Regions from separate parts of the Homo sapiens genome. Here region 2 is linked to region 1. Evidence: promoter capture Hi-C in human tissues and cell types (Jung and others, 2019). All regions are on one chromosome and are shown on one strand. Each heading gives the region's core, a stretch centred on a gene start or on the middle of the fragment in contact. The rest is flanking DNA. Distances are from core to core; before and after follow the strand shown.

Region 1 (4,349 bases), core at 905-3,404:
CAAAGAAACTAGGCCCTTGATCTTTTATGCTTCTTGTAATTGGAGATCTGCAAGGTGCATTCTCATGGGCCCCCACAGTTTTCCAGGAATTCAGAGCAGTGTTAGAATCCAAGAGAAAGGGGTCAGAGATTAACCCTCTCTCCTGACCTCCCTGAGTTTGCATCATAGGCCTGAGTAACAATTTTTGTGCTGAGAATTTTATAAGCACTCATAGGAATTACTTCTTGTAGAGTGTTGTCAATGTCTGTGGTGGGCATGGCTACCCTCCTTGGAATAGCAGAGAAATGGTGCTCAGCCTGCCTCCTGAGAAGCATTTTCAGAGACTTGAGCTCAAGGCTTTAGAATTTCTATGTGAAAGAGGCTTTGGAGTGTAAGGGGCTTATATTCCATGGACATATCCCAATGACAGGAATACTGGAGGCTCCCCAAAGCTTCATGTGGTATAGCCACTTTCTCTAGAGTTCTACAACATTTCCTTTTAGGCCTCAAGGCAAGAAATGATTCATTGTCCTTTATTTCTTTTACAATAGAGCTTGATTGTCCACCACGAAATACCTATAACACAGAGCACAGAAACCAAAGTCCTGGGTGTCATTAGGATTCTTTTAGTCCATAGTAGAGAGGTGGCTGTCTCCTCATAAGAAAATTGGGGTGATTTTAGGATGCGGCCTTGATAGCTAGGCTGCCAAAAATACTTATAAATATTTATTATAGGCCTTTTAGCCAAGGATAGATGTGGGGCTAATTTATGGAAACCTCTTGTTGAAATAACAAGAAATAAAACATAAGTCTTAGGAAACTTATCAGGAGACTCTACAATATAATAAAATAATCTGATTATATTTCTGTCTCCTCTGCCAGATGGTAAGCAGTTTGAAGGCAGAAACTGTGTCATACTCTTTAAAAATATAACTTTGAATTATCTAAGTGATTCATATCATTTTTATAAAAATAAAAGTTACTAATAATGTTGAAATCTCCTTTACCCCCAAACTAGTCTTCCCCCTCCTTCCCATTACCCACATGCCAGGCACACAAATGTGGTTCAAATGATGCTTGTTGACCTGCATGGAAGAGATCCAGAGTGGAAACTGAGAGAGGTTCAGCAGGCAGGCAGGGTGGTGGGGTGACTGACCCCCTACCTGCCCCAATCTGGCCAAGCACCCTCTCTCTACACCACTAGCTTCAGGGCTACAAAAATTTTTCAGCTTGTCACGGGTTGCCAAACTGTGATATACAGCAGAGTTGATGTAAACTTCCACACTTTCTAGAGGATAGTTTTACTACTGTCATCAGAGTTGTGGTCGTATTTCCATGGCTTTAATCTGGTTTTGCTGGAGATGCTTCTCCAGGTCTACTGCTGGTCCTTGAAGGTGGAGACTCAGGGCTATCAAATTTTACCAAAATGACTTCTCCCTCAAAGGAAAGGGAGAGGATAGAAGATAAGGACGTCTTCTGGTCAGGTATCGCCAGACGTAGACAAACATGATCAGGAATTGGGGGATGTGAATCAGAATGGGCAGTGGGACAGGAACAGAGAAGTCAGACATGGACCAAGTAAGAAGGTGTTGTTGACCTTCCTAGGCCCACCAGTTCAACCGATGACTGAGGCCCATGGTCTGGGTACGACTGGAGGGTGATGAGTACAAGTCAAGGACCTCCTCTTGGTTAAAAAAGCAAGGTCAAGAGGGAGGATGAGGAGTAGAAAAATGAAGAGAATCAATCAACCCTTTCTCAGCAAGACTTGGACCAAGTTACTTCCCTTCTGTACTTCTTTAGACCCATACCCCTACAGTGGGTATATGAATAACAGCCCATAACCTGGTATTTACGAGTCACTCTTCGGGATGAAGAGTGAGAGACTGTTCATGAATGGGGATCTGCCCTCTAGTGGTCCTTTCTCTTGAGCCCTCTGTTCAATCGCTGATTTGCTGGCAAATTCTTTCAATGTTGAATGCCTGTTTGTCTCACTGGGTGGACTTTTACTTAAAATTCTTATCTGGGGCACATGCAGTAAGTGGAGAAAAATGTAAGACACTTTTCCTTTGGTCATTACTAACAAGCCCTGAGGAAAAAGCCTGAGTGGCTTATGTTAATCATTAAACTTACCCATGGTCAGGTCTGAACTTTTACTCTGGTACACATTTGGCTGGGACACAAACGAGTTAGGTGAGTTATAGTCTAACGTGAGTGAGTTACCTGCGTGGTGGCTGCAGGCTGAGCTCTAACCAGATAACATGTCCACGGATTCTTGACAGAGAGAAATAAGATCACTTAGAAAGAAAGGATCATTTCTCCCTTGAGTCACAAGGAGACAGAAACAGAAAAAAAAGGTACTGTTTGATCCAGAAAAGTCTCTGCTCTCTGTTTTCTAGGTGTTGTATCTCTTGTTAACGTTCTGGTGAACAAAAGGAAGAAATGGGAGATCTATAGTAGTGCCTTGCAACTTTGTCCCTCGATGTCCCAAAGGAGAAGCTGAGAGGGAAGGGAGGAAGAAGGGAAGAGGGAGTGAGAGCAGAGAGAGGAGAGAGAGAGAGGAGAACAAAAACATGACTAAATAAATGCACACAGCTCTCCTCTGTGGTTGAAAAATTTTAGTTATGAGAAATAAAGAGAGTCTGAGTTTATTTTTAGGAAGAATTAGTGGATAGACTAATAAAAAATTACATTTATAATTGACATGAAAAAGATGCAGTTCCAAATGTAGGGTTTTAAGAAAACCAGTGTGCGAATGTTTATTTCTATTGTTCTGAGCTTGGGAGTAGGCATTAAGAAGAAATGTTAAAATCACGTAGCCAGATTGAAAATAGACTCTCCTGTGCTGAGTATATTTTGTCTGTGTAACAAGCAAGTCAGATCTCATGCTTTTGGACTAAGCAGCAAATACGCTTGGGTACTTTTCCCTATGTGGTAGATGTATTCTGAAAGTTGTATATTTATAAGTTGAATTCTATTTCAAATAGACGTAAAAGTTTGGGAATTTTGCAACGAAAAGGAACACTTGCTGAATCCACTTGAAAATACTAGAATTCCTTTCTTAAATCCAAGTAGCCTCCACACTTACCCTATCTGGTAATGACTCGGGGGCAGGTACATAGATTGTTTGTTTTCCCAACTTTTAGTATAGTGCTTAGCACGTAGTGGGCATACAATAAATGTTTGCAGTGTTGAATTAAATAGAAATGATTATAGATTTCCAGCTGTCTCAATCAGAACATGCCCGTAAGGTGAGTTTATTGCAAAGTTTTTGCAGATTTTTTTTTTGAGGGGGGGAGTATATTGTAGCTTTTATATTTTCAGAAATGATGTAACTACTTCTGCTAATCTCAGTGTTTTCTTAAAAATATAAATTAAATGGCCAGGTGTGGTGGTTCATGCCTGTAATCCCAGCACTTTGGGAGGCTGAGGCAGGGAGATCACTTGAGGCCAGGAGTTCAAGACCAGTCTGGCTATCATGGTGAAAACCTGTCTCTACAAAAAATTCAAAAATTAGCCGGGTGTGGTGGCGCACACCTGTAATCCCAGCTACTCAGGAGGCTGAGGCATAAGAATCACTTGAACCTGGGAGATGGAGGTTGCAGTGAACTGACATCATGCCACTGCACTCCAGCCCAAATGACAGAATGAGACCCTGCCACACACACACACATACACACACACTTTGTGTGTGTGTATGTGTGTGTGTGTATGTAGGTATGTATATATATATTAAATATATTTATATATTTATATGTAATAAACATAAACATAATTAAATATATATTAAACGTGTATTTAGTAGTACATGTGGGTGTTTAATTCTGTAATTTTCAAACTTTCAGAAAATTTCAGAGGCACTATTTTTAAGAGGATTTTGTCGATGCCCTCTGCCATGAGGTGCTGGAGAGCAGCTCAGCACTTTCCTTAGAGCAGGCATGAGAGTGAAAGCTGTTCATCTCAGATTAGGTAAACCCAGATTTAGGGTATTCAAATATGTCTTCATCCACTCCAATGTACTGAGCGCTGTGTGGGACCTTCACACTTTCACACTAGGAAGGCTGTGGAAATAGAAGACTGGTTCCTGGGTCTCTTCAAGGAACGTGCCGTCTGGAAGAAGAGGCCTATGTGTGCCACATTATCTGGTCTAGGCTCTACAGCACGGAAGTTAGAGGTTCAGGGGGAAGGTGGTGAGCACTGGAATGGCGGAGGAAAGAATCAGCTGAGGAGGGGCTCCTGAGCAGCACCACGAAGGTGCGCCAGGATCTCCTGAGGCCACGGAGAGAGTTGAGGGCATCCAGGAAGGGACCAGCAGGGGCCAAGGCAGAGGCTGATGTGTGGAAGGCTTGTCTGAGTGACGGTGAGAACGGCGT
Region 2 (4,349 bases), core at 542-3,041, 38 kb before region 1:
TGGCATCTAGCATAATTGTAGCTATCAACAGTGCATAAAGAATTATAACTTTTTCTACAATCATACAATACTTTCCATTTTTTGCAATGAATGTTGCTAATTTGTAATAGATTTTCCAAAGTCAACTTTGATAACTACATGAAAACATTAAAATTATTTACATTTTTGCCAATCTCCTCAGTTTTCATTAACAAAAATTTAATAGTTTTATTTTTCAAATCTAGATGTTTGAAAATAAAAGATACTGCAAGATTTATATAATTGTTTATATCTAATCTTATGCGACTTCTCTCTGGAGCCATGTCTATTTTAATGATATGGAATTAAAGAGATAAAGTCATTAATTTAAAATTGTCATCACTCCTGCCATCCTATTCTTCTACATATCTAAATTTAGAACACCCTAATATTGGCTCAAATTCCCATTTCTAATGCCAGACTTTGTAGTAACAGAAATATATCAAAGAAGGAAAAGACAGGCAGCTCTACTGTAGCTTCATTGTCTTGATTGAAGCAGGTTTTACAGACACCAACATTTCGAATTGCCCATTTTTGACACCCCAGAGTTTTTATTACACCTTGGGAAAATGCACCACAGGAAGAATCAGGAGAAATTAAAGGTGTATATTTCTTTCTGTACAGTGGAAAAAGTAAGGCTGTGAAAGGAGAAATAGAAATGGACAACCTGGTTGAAGTAGTGAGAAATGAATTTCAGCAGAGTACTCTCTGAATATATGTGGGAGCCAAGGATTTGGGAAGCGGTTCCCCTAAAACTGTCTGTGTCCTTGTACCTGTTAGAAGGTCTCTGTTTACTCCAGTTTTCAGACATCTAGCCTAACCAGCTGAAAAATGTTTGCTTGGGGTTGGAGTGAGAGCAGAGAAGAGCTGAGGAAAAAAGTGACTGTTTTTGTGGCACTCTGGGCTGACTTCTTTCAAGTTAATTATTTTACACTATTATGGCATGGAGCTGAGTGAAGAAGGTGTTTGTCATCCTCAGGGGCTATGATATTTGACAGTCATGGATTCTATAGATTTAAATATACTTGCATATAAAATGGTGAAATAAGCTTACACCATTGGAAAATGCCTAAGGGTACAAAAGCAGGCAAACTGGAGAGACAGCCAAGTGACTGCCTTTTACATTTTTCAACCACAATGAAAAATCAACTTTCTTCAGAGTACCAGGTTGAATTCCACCATTTGGAATTATGCTTTTTCCTTTTGTAATGGAGCAATAGTTTCACCTATCACTAATTCCATCTAGGAGATTATCATACAAGAATAAAGAGGCCACATTGCTCTCTTGCTCTTTATGTATTTTTTTCTTTTTTTTTTTTTTGAGACAGAGTCTTGCTATATTGCTTAGGCTGGATTGCAACTCCTGGGCTCAAGGGATCCCAAGTCACTGGGACTATGGGTGCATGCCACCTTGCCTGGCTTACGTGTGAGTCTTATTATATTAATATTTGGTGTATGTAAAATGTATATAAATTAAATTTGTAGAATGATTGAGTCAGAGGGGGTGTTTAATTATATTGCACATAAAGTAGTGTGGCATCCATTTTTCAATCTTTGGTTCCCAAGGAACTGCCAGTAGCATCTAGCAGAGGCCATTGGTAGCTGATGCACTTACTTGTGAGCATATAAAACTTCTCAGAGGAGAGCCAGAAATTTTAACATGTTGGGGGGAAGGAAGCTAAGGTTCTGCTGAACGTGTAGAAAAGAGCAAGTTCCTGTGACATTTGGGTTGATGATGACACCCTATCTGCCACTACATTCCAATGTATGTAGGGGACAGGGGCCAGTGGAAACTCAGGTTACATAAAAAACCCTTAGTTCTTGGTGAGCAGCAACTGGTGAAACCCCTTCTTTTTTCCCTACTAGTTGCCTCTTGAGTTACCATCCCCAGTGCCTTCCCACTTTCAGAAAAGGCTAGGGCTGGAAATTACTCATTTGCAATAATTCTGGTTGAAGTGAGCCTTTCTCTCCTTTTTTTTCCCCCAAAACAAGAGTGAATTTTCTGTCTAAACCCTCTGATGGACACATCGATACAGATCACCAGTCTTCCTGAAAATCATTTGAAGGAGAATTGGGAGGGAGGTCCCCACATGACGTCAGGAGAATGGTGAATGCAGGCTGCCTGGTGCCTGGCCTCCCTCCTGGGACAGAAGTGGCACTCCCTCCCACATGTTTCCCCAGCTTCACCCTGCCCTCCAAACCCAAGGCTGGCAGGTCACCTAGTTAATGTTTACAACAAAAACCTGTTGAACAGTAGGAAATTCCCACCTCCCCCCAAATACAAAAGCCTTTCATGCTGAAACCCCCCTCCTGAATTTCTCTTGGGCAGAGAACACTAGATGTATTACCTCAAATAATCGCTGCTGAGATGGAAGTTCAGCTTCTCAGGGAAAATATTATTAGCATTTATGTCAGGAAAAATAAAGTTCTGAGGAAGACCCTAGAATTTTAGGGCAAGCGTGTAGCACTAAGAAGGTCAGTGGATCCCAGATGCCAGTATGGATCTTGGACTCTTTGAACACAAACCAGCTACAAGGTTGGCCATGAGATGGGTCCACAGAACAGCTAAATATTCAGTGGAGGACTCAGTTCAAGCAGCTTCTGAGAATGATCATCCTGTCAGCTCTTTTGTGACAGGCAATCAATCATTAACCTCTCCTAACCACCCTGGAAGAATGTTTTGGAATTTTGATTAAATGTGGTTTATGTTGGCAATAAGAGAAAGAACTAAGTAAATGTTTGACATTCAGCCTCTGCTCTGGAGAATAAGAGGTGATGGAAGACTCTATTGAATAAGCTGTATTTTATTTTGATTTGTTTGATAAGAATGAAAGAACATGTCCCAGGGGGACCCACATCCCTTCTTTCCTGTGGGGAGTGTCCTAGCAGACCCCACATAGGCATCCTTGCTTCTCCACTCTGCTAGGACTCTAGAGGTGATTTTTGGCCTCAGGGGTTATAAGTATCTGGGGCATCAGTGGACAAATGAATATCTATTAGAGAACTTTTACCTGTAGGTCATGCTTCCATACAGGCAATATCTGGAGAGCGAATAGGTAAGGTTTCAGTGCACAGAAAAGATGATGGCTAAAATATAAATTTGATATTTTGTTCACTGATGTATCCTAAATAATTAGAAGAGTGTTTGTTGAATGAATGGCTCTACTCACATCAGGGACAGCCTGCTAAGACTGGCTGGGTGATTCACATAGTGGTTGCTTTCCGGATGCACTGCTTTTGCATCTTCTGGGCCATGGTTCAACTTTATCATGACTCAGGGATATGGTCCAGGTATCCAATCTCCAGTACAGTTCCAATACCCAATCTCCATAACTCCCCCCAGTATGTCTCTCTTGCCCCTCATCTTAGCCTTCTCACAGAAAAAATGAACAACATGTTGATTCTACTCTTTTATCCAAATGATAGCATTCCTTCTTCTAGTCTTAGGATAGCTGTCCTGATCCATACATATATCCCCTCCAAAGGGGAGCTACCTTTACAGTTCTAAGATGAAGAAAAGGAAACAAAAACACAACTTTATAGTCTGTCAAGATTTTTGCTACAGGACAAATACATTATCTGCATGTGAAATCTGACTGCTCACCTCTGGGCTCACACTTTTCATTGACTTTATAAAGGTTCTTAGGAAGCATAGATGCTATGTATGGGTATTTAATGGGATAGAAGAAGCAACAAAACTGCATTTCATAAGGGATAATAACTGGCCCAACATCAGCGAGGTTGTGTCATGGTGATACAGAATTGAGGAGCAGGAAGGTAGAGAGGAAATGCTATTCCTTCTCCTCTGTCATTCATTCATTCATTCACTCATTCATTCAATATTTATTACACACTGATTCCATGCTAGGCACTGTTGCTAGAAGCTGGGGATGCAGTGGTGACATAGAAACAAGATCCCCGTCTTCTTGGAGCTTAGTATATTAGAGAAGTTAGATCTTTCCTACTTATGCCATTGGACAACTGAAGAGAGAGGAAGCTTAGACAGCTATGAGGCCTATGGCAATCTGAATTCTTCCACAGGAATCTCTAAATAGAAGGCTGGGAGCACTTGGATGCTAAATTAGCCTGATGTAATCCAGGTTGTATTAACTCCAGGAAAGACCTAACCTGACTCCAGGAAATGAATTAAGAATGCTATATAAATAAGTTTCTAATAAAATCTGGGAGTAAGCCAGAGTGTGTTCCCTGCCCCCAACCCCCTTCTGATTTAGTGTTGCAACTGTTAAGCTGAACCAAAGGAAAAAAAAAAAAAAGGAAAAAAAATACAAAGACTACCTCAAAAACCAAACTACAAATTGGGAGAAAATATT

Evidence for each region. The method cuts DNA at HindIII sites, captures the fragments that hold promoters and counts their contacts. A contact is called where the count stands out against the background at its distance.
Region 2: a contact is called between a fragment that was not itself captured here and the fragment with the promoter of PKHD1 in region 1, in 2 of the 25 tissues and cell types used here (H1 embryonic stem cells and thymus).

The regions. Positions count from the first base shown.
Region 1 is chr6:52,085,418-52,089,766 of GRCh38, reverse strand. It overlaps PKHD1 (PKHD1 ciliary IPT domain containing fibrocystin/polyductin), which reads left to right and starts at 2,154. Exons shown (of 67, transcript NM_138694.4): 1 at 2,154-2,333. The HindIII fragment of the contact is 13,504 bases long and covers 1-4,349 here.
Region 2 is chr6:52,123,216-52,127,564 of GRCh38, reverse strand. No RefSeq gene overlaps it. Among named protein-coding and RNA genes, the nearest start is that of MIR206, 19 kb to the left of the region's middle. The HindIII fragment of the contact is 6,917 bases long and covers 1-4,349 here.